3 separate regions of the Homo sapiens genome follow, and regions 1 and 3 are each linked to region 2. Evidence: promoter capture Hi-C in 16 types of primary human blood cells and fetal thymus (Javierre and others, 2016). All regions are on one chromosome and are shown on one strand. Each heading gives the region's core, a stretch centred on a gene start or on the middle of the fragment in contact. The rest is flanking DNA. Distances are from core to core; before and after follow the strand shown. Region 1 overlaps VPS35L (VPS35 endosomal protein sorting factor like). Region 2 holds the start of GP2 (glycoprotein 2). Region 3 overlaps VPS35L (VPS35 endosomal protein sorting factor like).

Region 1 (3,651 bases), core at 896-3,395, 680 kb before region 2:
GCTCACACATCATATCCCATTGTTCAGAACTGTCCCATAGCCACCCCTAGCTGGGAAGGAGGCTAGGGAATGTTGTTCTAAGAACAAAGTGGGGCTGGGCATGGTGTCTCACACCTGTAATCCCAGCACTTTAAGAGGCCAAGATGAGTGGATCACCTGAGGTCAGGAGTTTGAGATCAGCCTGGCCAACATGGTGAAACCCCGTCTCTACTTTAAAAAAAAAAAAAATACAAAAAATTAGCTGGGCGCCTTGGAACGTGCCTGTAATCCCAGCTACTTGGGAGGCTGAGGCAGGAGAATCGCTTGAACCTGGGAAGCACAGGTTGCAGTGATCCAAGATCATGCCATTGCACTCCAGCCTGGGCAACAAGAGCGAAACTCCATCTCAAAACAAAAACAAAAACAAAAAAGAACGAAGTGGGCATTTGTATTGAAGGACAGTGGGCAATCTTTGCCAAAACATTTTCTCCGAGAACAAACCAACAAACAAAAACCTTGACTCCTGTTTTCTCTGGGCTCTTAAAAATTTTTTTTTTAAATAACTTTGGGGAACTATTTATTCCCCAAATAACTATTTATTTAACTATCCAAGTATAATCAAAACTGTAATGACTTTTTCTTATTTATATTTGTGTTACATTTTCTATTAAATAGAAGCAACTGAGACCTGAGATTTACTTTACAATGTATCAAAAAAATAAGATGGATTGATGGATGGAGAGGGGAATGGATAATTATGTGTAAAACAAGTAAAATGGTGATGGCAGGATTTCGATGGTGTATGGGTGTTTACTGGAAAATTCTTTCAACTTTGCTGTACATTGGAAATATTTCTGTTTCCTTTTTGGGGAGAACGGGGTCTCGTCATGTTGCCCAGGTTGATCTCCAACTCCTAGGCTCAAACGAACCTGCTACCTCTGCCTTCCTAAGTGCTGGGATTACAGGTGTGAACCAGCACACCCCGCTGGAGATTTTTTAAATAAAATATTCAATGAAATTTCCCTGAAATACAAAATTTGACATTAGACCTTGCTGCCCAAGTTCCAAAGAAGTGAAAGTTACCTTTTCTTTTCTTGTTAATAAATCTATCTTGAGAACAGCATATTTGAGGGAGATGAGAAACATATTTAAATTATGTTAATTGTGATTATGTATTTTTATCAAAGGAAAAATAAGCAGCCTGTTGGCAGTTTTTTAAATCTAGAAAATGCAAAATGTTCTTACCTGTTAAATTACTTACCCCTTGTGTATTTTTTTCTTTAGAAACTTTCATCTATTACCTCCGTGTTAATTATGTACAATTATTGATTTTAGTGCACTCACTCTTGAGGATGAGAAAAGAATGCTGTCATATTTGATTAATGGATTTATAAAAATGGTAAGTATTAGGGAAGAAGTTTCAGTGCACTTGGAAGTGTGATGTAATTGTTTATCCTTATGTTGGCGAAAGCAGTTAACATTATGTTCTCTGGTGCTTTTCATTCTTAGTGAGATAAAATGAAATTAGAAAACATCTTACATTAGCCAGGACTCCCCTGGGGGCAAAGAGAGCCAAGACAAACTGGCTTAAGAGGAAAAAGGTGGGGGGCGGGAGGGTGATGGGAGGAGGGATTTCTTGGCTCATGTGACAAAAAGTCCAGGGGCTGGAACTCTCCAAAGCAGCAGCCGGGCTCAGGGTCTCCGGGATGTCATCAGGACCTGCCTTCCCTGTCTTTTTTCTTTTTTTTTTTTTTTTTGAGATGGAGTCTCGCTCTGTCGCCCAGGCTGGAGTGCAGTGGCGCGATCTCAGCTCACTGCAAGCTCCGCCTCCCGGGTTCACGCCATTCTCCTGCCTCAGCCTCCCGAGTAGCTGGGACTACAGGCGCCCGGCACCACGCCCGGCTAATTTTTTGTATTTTTAGTAGAGACGGGGTTTCACTGTGTTAGCCAGGATGGTCTCGATCTGCTGACCTCGTAATCCGCCCGCCTCGGCCTCCCAAAGTGCTGGGATTACAGGCGTGAGCCACTGCACCCAGCCCCCTGTCTGTCTTTAGCCCTGGGCTCTGCCCTGTTGGCCTCCGGCTCAGCTGGGCTTGCCCCACCAGAGCTCCAGGTTTCCATCCCCCCCAGCTCTGCAGCCCAGCAGGTGGGATTCCAGCAAAGTCCTGGGATTGAGTCTCTTTGGATTAACATGGGTCGTGGCCCCAAGCACACCTGGGTGACCTGAGTCAGGAGGGCCGAGAGTGGAAAGAAGGTGTGTCCTGAAGCAGCTGATGCAGATCATCAGACGGTGATGGAAACTATGCCGGGCAGGCAAAACGCCAGATATCCACTCCCCATCTGTTTTACTTATCTACTGCTGAGTAACAGCTCATCCCAAAACTTAGTGGCTTTAAATAACAGGGCTTTTTTTTGCTGTTTTTTTTGGGGGGGTCGAGACAGGGGTTTCCAACTCCTGGTTTCAAACAATCCTCCAGCCTTGGCCTCCCACAGTGTTGGGATTACAGGCCTGAGCCACTGCGCCCAGCATGAGTTTTTTATTAGTTCTCAAACTCTGCGGATCAGCTTGGTAACCAGGCTGCTACAGGGAGTGTGGTGTGGCACTGGCGTGGCACGATTGGGCTGGAGGATCCACAGTGGCCTTGTTCCCTTCTCCAGGGTTTTGGTGCTGGATATGGGCTGGGGCATCTTGGTTTTCTTCCATGTCCTCTCTTTCTCACCACTGTTCTCAGTCAGTGATTCCAGTTGAGCTCTCTTACTTGGTGCTGCCTTCTATGAAGGCACAGACAGAAGCAGCAAGGCATTTTAAGGCCAAGGCTTAGAAATCACACAGTGAGGCCAGGCGCGGTGGCTCACATCTGTAATCCCAGCACTTTGGGAGGCTGAGGCAGGTGGATCACCTGCGGTCAGGTCGAGACCAGCCTCACCAACATGGTGAAACCCTGTCTCTGCTAAAAATACAAAATTAGCCGGGTGTTGTGGTGCATGCCTGTAATCCCAGCTACTCGGGAGGCTGAGGCAGGAGAATCGCTTGAACCCGGGAGGCAGAGGTTGCGGTGAGCCAAGACCATGCCACTGCACTCCAGCCTGGGCAACAGAGCAAAACTCTGTCTTGGGAAAAAAAAAAAAGAAATCACACAGTAAACCCCTGCCATATTCTACTGCAATCTGTGGGTCAAAGCAAATCACAGTCTTGAGGGGACCCAGTCTGGAGGGGAAGAGGCTCTGCCTTTTGATGGGGGGTAGTCCACAGAGACATTGCAGAAGGGCAAGCACAGTGGGAAGGTTTCCTGCAGCCTCCTTTGGGAACATCCCACCATTATACTATCCCAGCCTGAACAGTCTTCACCTTCATTCTGGGTGCTCTAAGCCAAAACACCAACTGCTGCAAATATCTTCTATTTTAATAGAAAAGTCAGGACCAAAGCTGACTGAGATGAAAATGACGAGATCACTTTGAAAATAACCTTGAAATTCTGACTTGTTCAATAGTGCGGGTTGATTAGTCTACCTGACTCTGCGGGTAAAATATCAATTTTGATGAAAATTCAGGATTAGCCTTTCAATTCCCGTGTTAGGAAACAGACATATGGATTTTCCCAAGTCGCTCTCCTTTGCCCTTGCTTTTTGTACTCATCATGTGGTATTTATCTTTTTACGGCATTGTCTGAA
Region 2 (3,308 bases), core at 720-3,219:
GAGGATTAAATGTGATAATATGTGTAAAATGCCAAGCACAGCACCAGGGTCAAGCTAATTGTCTTCTCTAGTTCTATTTTGTTGAATGCTGTAGATGCCTGAAGAAGGAGCTAAGTGCACACACAGGATCATGTGCTTACAATACACATTAAAGGGGCTTTCTAAAAAAAAGAGATTTTCAAGCTTTGCACATGCTTATAATACACATTAGAAGGGCCTTTCAGAAAAAAAGATTTTCAAACTTTGCTCATGCATGTACTTATTTTAAGACAAGGAATCACTGCATTTGTTATTCTTAGATTGTATTTTTCCACTGGAGGCCTCCAATGAGCTCAGTACCCTCTCCCACCCTCCTCCAGGGGCTGAAATTTGCACTCTAATTCTAAGCCTGAGACTCCTTTCTGCAAGTATCTGAATTGCCCACTTCATAAAGAGATCACTTAATCTAGCCCTTTCAGGAAAAGGAGAAGGCACTTGCCAGCACAAGGTGACTGAGTTATGTATTTCTTGATCTTCTTTAATCTGGGGTCTCTAATCTCCCAAAGATATGGGCATGGGAAATTATGTTAACTGGCTCCCACTGCCCTTTCAGAGGAATTTCTGATTAGGCTCTTTGAGAGATTGTGACTTGATTTCCATTGTTTCTCATTATGTTTCCCTTGACTTCTAGCTCTGAGTTTTTGCTTTAGAACTGCCAATTCCTCTTCCTTACCTGAGCCACCTTCTCTGCACTTCTATCCTCACTTGCTAGGTCTTCCTTGACATCTGAGATGCCAGGTGAGCAGAATACTTACCTCGCTGCACTGCAGATGCCTGGGTCAGAATGCAGGAGACCAAGGCCAGCCACAGGAGGCCAGAGCCCACCATCCTTTCCATAAGGTGAGGCATGCAGGTCACTTTGCTGTATGCAGACTTCCCATGCAGCTATGGGAAAGAAAAGACCAAGATAAGATTAGGGCATAGGTCTATGTTCTTAGAAACAGATCCGTTGACTTCCTTCATAAAGAGCTGCATTGTTTCAAAGTAGGTGTGACTTATGGACAGATAGAGCGAGATAATGGGTGATAAAATTGACAGTAAGCAAACCAAAGGCAAGCTTAGAGCTGGCTAGTACTGCAGAATGTCCTAGAAAGGTCTCAGGATGGTCCCTGCTCAGGTGGAAGTAGAGGCTCTTTGGAGATTGGATAGAGAAAAAGGGATATGGTACCTGTGAATACCTGCACACAAAAGTAATGGCTGCCCTTTCTTAGTTTTATGCATTGGGTGCTGCTAAGAGCCCCCTGAAATGTCCTCTATGGATGTAGATTTCTGTGACTGTGGAACCATGCCAAACCGAGCCTCATGTTCCTTGCTCCTAGTACAGAATCTGGCACACAAGGAGTACTCAGTAGAGGATTAAGGATGAATAAATAAATCAATGGGGGTTGGGGGCGGTGGCGAGGCAGAAAGAAAGAGCTGCAAAAAAGCCTGCCAGCATTTGGATGGCATTTACTTTTCTGGGAAATACTTTCCCTAAATGGCCAAATCTTTGGATAACTTCCTACAACCTCTGGAAGACTTCAGTGGAAAATAGAGATCGGTTTCGGGCAGGGATACCATGAGTATGCTATGAGACAGCAGGGATAGGGAAGCACCCAGGATTGGTGATTCTTAGAGATGAGATCCCAATAGAGACCTAGTTCCCTGGTGGGAATATCTGGGACAAGGAAGAGGGTGGCGTCCGTAGGCCTGGAGCATCGCAGATGACTGGAAGCATGACTGAGTTGGACATAGAGTGGTACCTGGAGCACTTGACAATGGCCAGGGTCCAAACTACTTGCTGGGTTCTAAAAATTTCCAGAAACAAAGAATCCTAGCATGTCCAGTGGATCAAGATTTCCCAGGATTAGGAGGAAGCCTCCTGGGGCTTAAAGCAGGACTTACCTCCGATGAGAACACAAAGCGTTCCTCCTCTGGCCAGCCATGGGAATGCAGCCTGCTGTGGGCCGTCTTTTTATTGCAATTTCCCACCCATGTGTCTCTCCTCAATTGGTGCACAGGTATGATGGGAGTTCTAGGCCATACACTGGGCTTGTTGAGTGGAGGTGAGATAAGCCATTTACGCAAAGGATGGTGAAAGAAGGGCCCTCCCCTCACAATGTCAACCCTTCCAGCTGTCTCAGCATTGTGCGAATGCTTCCTACAAACAATAGTGCTGTGTGCTGAATGCTGAACATGCTGGGCACTGCTTTGCGTTCTTGACTTCTCACATTTAATCTTCATAATTAATCAATGAAACTGGTGCCATATTTATTACCAGAAACCAAACACGAATTGAAAGGAAGCTTAATACCCAAAGGGAAGTGAAGAGAAAATCAAACAGGCACTTGTTTGCACAATGGATTTTCAGTTGTACCTTGTGTTCCTAGCTAATCATCTTGGAACATTTCTGCTTCTGTCTGAAGGCCACTGAGCTTGGGGCCAGTTAGACTAAGAGGACACATAGGAAAGGAAAGAAGGGAGTGTGGATGTTTCGAAAAATTCCATTTATTGGTCCATAGAATCTACCCAACTCCGGATTTCTAATGCTGAGCAGTTTTGGAATGGCTAATTTGGTGATGATGGATTTTGGAATGGCAAAGGACAGACAAAGGTTCTTGGACAAAAGAAGCACCAGAGTAGCCCCTGTAAATCCCTTTTGATATGTAGGCTGCCCTAGAGATTGGAAGGCATGAGACTGAGAAGAGGCTGTAGAGGATCTTGGACTTATTAACTCCAGGCTTGGACCTGGCTTTCATGACATGGTAGAAATCATGGACTTCATAAAAGAGCCAAAGCTTTTGCAGAAAAAATGGCCACTGCTTCTTCTCTGTCACTCTGGGACTCCTTAAGGAGCCAAGGCAACTGGAGTCAAGGGAGCAGGAGGGTCTTGGCATTGGTAACACCTTCTACAAAACCTCAACCTGGAAAAAGAAAAGGTGCTACAAGCCACCTTCTCTACTCCCAGAGCAACTGGAGAATAAATAGTCTCTAAAATGTGGAACTTGTGACAACTGGGCCCACTAAATCACCTACTGATCCATTCAGTCTGGCCAGGTGCCCATCCCAGTCTCCCCAGTGGCCACTCTTAACCTTCCCATTCCTCTTAAATGGTCTCTGCAGCTATTATCACCCACTCACACCACCTTTCTCAGCAGATATCTGGTACCCTACTTCAAAAACAATTTAGGCCACAACACCTGACCTTGCTCCTTCCCCTGTAAACATATAAATACTGGTCTCCATCCTCCACCCCTTCCCCCTCCAACTTCTGATAAGGCGATGTTCCT
Region 3 (3,771 bases), core at 909-3,408, 720 kb before region 2:
GAAAGAAACAGGCTGAGTCACCCCCTTTTCTGCTCCAGGGTAATGTATTCCCATCCAGGGACTCACACAGATCCTGAGATTTAGGAGGGCTGATGGATCTTGTTTTTTGTATTACAGATCACTTTTCTCCAGAGAATGCAAATGACACGGCCAAGGAAACATGCCTAAATTGGTTTTTCAAGATTGCCTCCATCAGGGAACTCATTCCAAGATTGTATCCTTTTTTTTTTTTTTGGTCTGATGATTTTAAAGATAGGCTAAAAGAATTGTACTGTTAATAGAAGCCATGTGATGGGATGCCCTGACATTCTTATTGAAAGTTTGGTCCCGTTACGGTTGCTAGCCTGAAAACACATACAGGGCAAGCCACATTGTAGAAACCCTTGGACTCTTGCTCTTTCCAGTTTTTTGTCTTTTACTTTGAATACGATGCCATGTGTCAAGCATTTGTTTCCTTGAGGAACATTCCCACCTTAATTCTCTCAATTAAAATGCTTCATATTTGTGTTTTCTCTGATTCCAAGAACTTGAAAGAACAGGGTCAAGCTTTGCAGGGCAAATGCTACTATTGAAGAACAGATAATTTGACTTATACATAAATTCCATCTTAGTTACCTAAAGTTCTTTCTTTCCCCATAAAGCATTGATTAGAAATGCTCAAAACCCAGTTTATATTTCAGCATGCAACTATGAATCAACGTATAACATTTCCCACAATTTATTTCAAATAAGTATGAAACTTTGAAAACCATATGTAGAAACCATAAGCTACCTTAGTTCGCTGGATTGTTGAGGGCCACTGTGGTCCCCATCTCCTAAGACCCGCCTACTTCTATTCATGGATAGTTTAGTCTTTTCTCCATAGGGAGTAGACCTTCTGGAAAACATCTTCCTTAACAGGATGTTTTTGTAGTTACGTGGAGGCATCCATCCTGAAATGTAACAAATTCCTCTCCAAAACGTAAGGCTCTTCGGTAAAATCTAGAACCATAAAATTTCTAAAAATCTCCCATGTGTACACAGATAGTAATGGCAATGTAATAGTAGCCATTATTCACTGAGTACTTAATGTGTGTTAAGCACCTTCTGTTCTTTTTCTCATTGAATCCAAATGAAAACTGAATGAAGTAGAGACACCATCCTAATCCCCATATTAGAGAGAGGAAAACTCAAGCCTGGAGAAGTTGGTTAAGGAGGTCATGGAAGATCAGCTCAACTGGATTTGAATCTTGGCTGTACTGGTACTAGCTGTATGGTCTTGAACAAGTTACTTACAGCCTCAGAACCTCTGGCTCCCTCTCCTGGGAACATGACCCTAAGAAGAGGTCTGAGGGGGTCCTTTGGGTCACACATGCAACAATGAGAGTCACCCCTGGCACACGGTGGGCCCATCCTCCATGTTGGCTGCTGTTGATGATGATGATGATGAAAATGACGTCAGAAGCAGAAGCCTTTGCCCTTAGTGGCTTAGGTCCATGCCACTCAATTTATCACAATGTTTTGAGAGTAGTTACAGGACGTGGGGGACCCAGATCTGCTTTCTGCAGAGCAGGTGAAATGCTGAGTCATGTTAGATAGCTAGATAATAAATTCCTTGAAGCCCGGGAGTGACTGATTCATGGTGCTCCACAGATAGCTCTACCGATTGGATTTAGAATTTATCTCAAGTGTGTTGGATTTGGATCTAGGGTTGCCTGGAATAGTTTGGGGGAATAACATGGGGGCTGAAGAAACATTATTTTGCCTCACCAGTTGGAGGAGGATAATGCCTTAGGCAGAGGGAAGACATACGTTGCAGGAGAAATAAATTGTAATTCACATTGTTGGTGGTTGGAGGATGTCAGATGCCAGCCTGAGATTCACGGAAGGAACAGGGTACGGGACAGTAAATCTGTGGCAAACGAAAATACATGTGGAGAGAAGATCAAGGGGTGCCCAGTCGATGGAAAATAATTGAAGACAAAAACTGTTAAAATTAATAAAATAAATGTGACCTCGACTGGGGAAAAAATGTGGTTAGCCTCCACCACTGAGCAAATGATAACGATGAAAGAAATCATTCAATGAATGAATTGTATCAGAAGAGAAAGACTGTTGTTACATTGCCTTAGAAAACTGAAACTTTGACCTTGGTTTGTTACTGAAACTTGATTTTTCCCCCCCTCCCTGAAATTTAGGAAGTCTTTATCTTTATTTAAAAAATTAAAGAACAGCGAGTTCTCACGTCGAATATAATGCTGGCCTGTTTTTGTCTCTTGCAGGGGAATTTCAGAGTGCCTGCCCCGGTTGACATGCATGATCAGAGGGATCGGAGACCCACTAGTGTCGGTGTATGCCCGTGCCTACCTGTGCCGGGTAGGCCATGCGAGTCACTGCCCTTGACGGCACGGCTGCCACCCGTCTCCTTGAATGTTCACACAGGGCCCTCCTTCCCCACCACCCCGCAAGTCATTGAGAGAAGGACTTTATTAGTGGCTAATTTTAGATCATGGCTCTGCCACAGAAAGTAGAACTGTAGGGTTTCTTTTAAAAATTAATTTTAAAGTAGACCAACTTACTGTAGCTCTAATTAGGGGACGTTTAAGGTCATCTTCTTACAAATGAACTGGTTTTCAGAAGTAATTGTTTCTCAGTTCTTGCTGGGAAGGAGGTTCCCAGGGCCTTTGGGCTAACAGGTTGCTTTTCATTGACTTCAAACATGCTCTTCCTTTGTCTTGACTTTGATTGCTTTATTAGTTTTCTGCTTGGCAGGGGAGCAGTGTCCCACATGATGGCAGGCCTCAGGGTCTGTGTGGCCTGGCTTAGGTGGCTGCTGTGAAAGGGGGTAGAGGGACTGATTAGAAATTACTTGCCCATGCCCTGCTTTAAAGCACCGTGAGGCTTCAGCTAAGCTATTAAGTTTTTTGTGTATGGAAAAAATGTAACCAATGGAGGTTATATGGTCTTTCTTTTTTTTGGAGATGGAGTCTTACTGTGTCGCCCAGGCTGGAGTGCAGTGGCGCCATCTCGGCTCATTTCAACCTCCACCGCCTGGGTTCAAATGATTCTCCTGTCTCAGCCTCCTGGGTAGCTGAGATTACAGGTGTCCGCCACCATGCCCGTCTAAGTTTTGTATATTTAGTAGAGATGGGGTTTCACCATGTTGGCCAGGCTGGTCTCGAACTCCTGACCTCAAGTGATCTGCCCACGTTGGCCTCCCAAAGTGCTGGGATTACAGGCGTGAGCCACTGCGCCCGGCCAGTATATGGTCTCTCCATAGTTTTCTTCAGCTCACACAGGGGCTTTGCCTCTGTCAGGACTCCCCCTAGCAACGAGAATCTTCCCTATCGTCCCATCAGTATTGCACATCCTTAGAGAGGGATCATTGCACCTGATAAGCCCCAGACTTCCTTGAGGACAAAGCTGCAGTTAGAGCCTCCCCCATGAGTTTGCACCTTATTAAATCAGAAGGCGAGAACATGTAGCCTGTGATTTGCCTCTTCTGCATGACAGCCAGCAAATGTCGGAAGCCCTGTGGTCTCTCAAGTTTCACGAAAAACTAAGTCAGTGCCCTCAGAGTGAGGAGCAGATATCCATTAGGAAGGGCACTTTTTATAGGTCTGTTTCTTGATACTGAGAATGAAAGAAAAAGCCTTTCGTTTAAGGGCATCCTCTTCCCTCTTTGCAGCAGAGGCCAAAGTGTGTATGCATCGCCCACTGCTTGAAACCTGGGGGGGATTTTCCATCCAGAGATATCAGGTGTGTTTCCAAGGACAACTTTTGAATATATTA

What was found. The method cuts DNA at HindIII sites, captures the fragments that hold promoters and counts their contacts. A CHiCAGO score of 5 or more calls a contact.
Region 1: a fragment that was not itself captured here is called in contact with the fragment with the promoter of GP2 in region 2 in 1 of 17 cell types (M2 macrophages); the score reaches 5.9 in M2 macrophages.
Region 3: a contact is called between a fragment that was not itself captured here and the fragment with the promoter of GP2 in region 2, in 1 of 17 cell types (M2 macrophages). The highest score is 6.2, in M2 macrophages.

What each region holds. Positions count from the first base shown.
Region 1 is chr16:19,643,572-19,647,222 of GRCh38, forward strand. VPS35L (VPS35 endosomal protein sorting factor like) reads left to right here. Exons shown (of 31, transcript NM_020314.7): 23 at 1,315-1,378. Among named protein-coding and RNA genes, the nearest start is that of KNOP1, 73 kb to the right of the region's middle. The HindIII fragment of the contact is 8,316 bases long and covers 1-3,651 here.
Region 2 is chr16:20,325,544-20,328,851 of GRCh38, forward strand. GP2 (glycoprotein 2) reads right to left here and starts at 1,970. Exons shown (of 11, transcript NM_001502.4): 1 at 1,924-1,970; 2 at 795-924. The coding sequence starts at 888. The HindIII fragment of the contact is 1,228 bases long and covers 1,095-2,322 here.
Region 3 is chr16:19,608,061-19,611,831 of GRCh38, forward strand. VPS35L (VPS35 endosomal protein sorting factor like) reads left to right here. Exons shown (of 31, transcript NM_020314.7): 10 at 118-214; 11 at 914-961; 12 at 2,262-2,355. Among named protein-coding and RNA genes, the nearest start is that of VPS35L, 54 kb to the left of the region's middle. RefSeq lists an enhancer at 1,162-2,361. The HindIII fragment of the contact is 3,228 bases long and covers 545-3,771 here.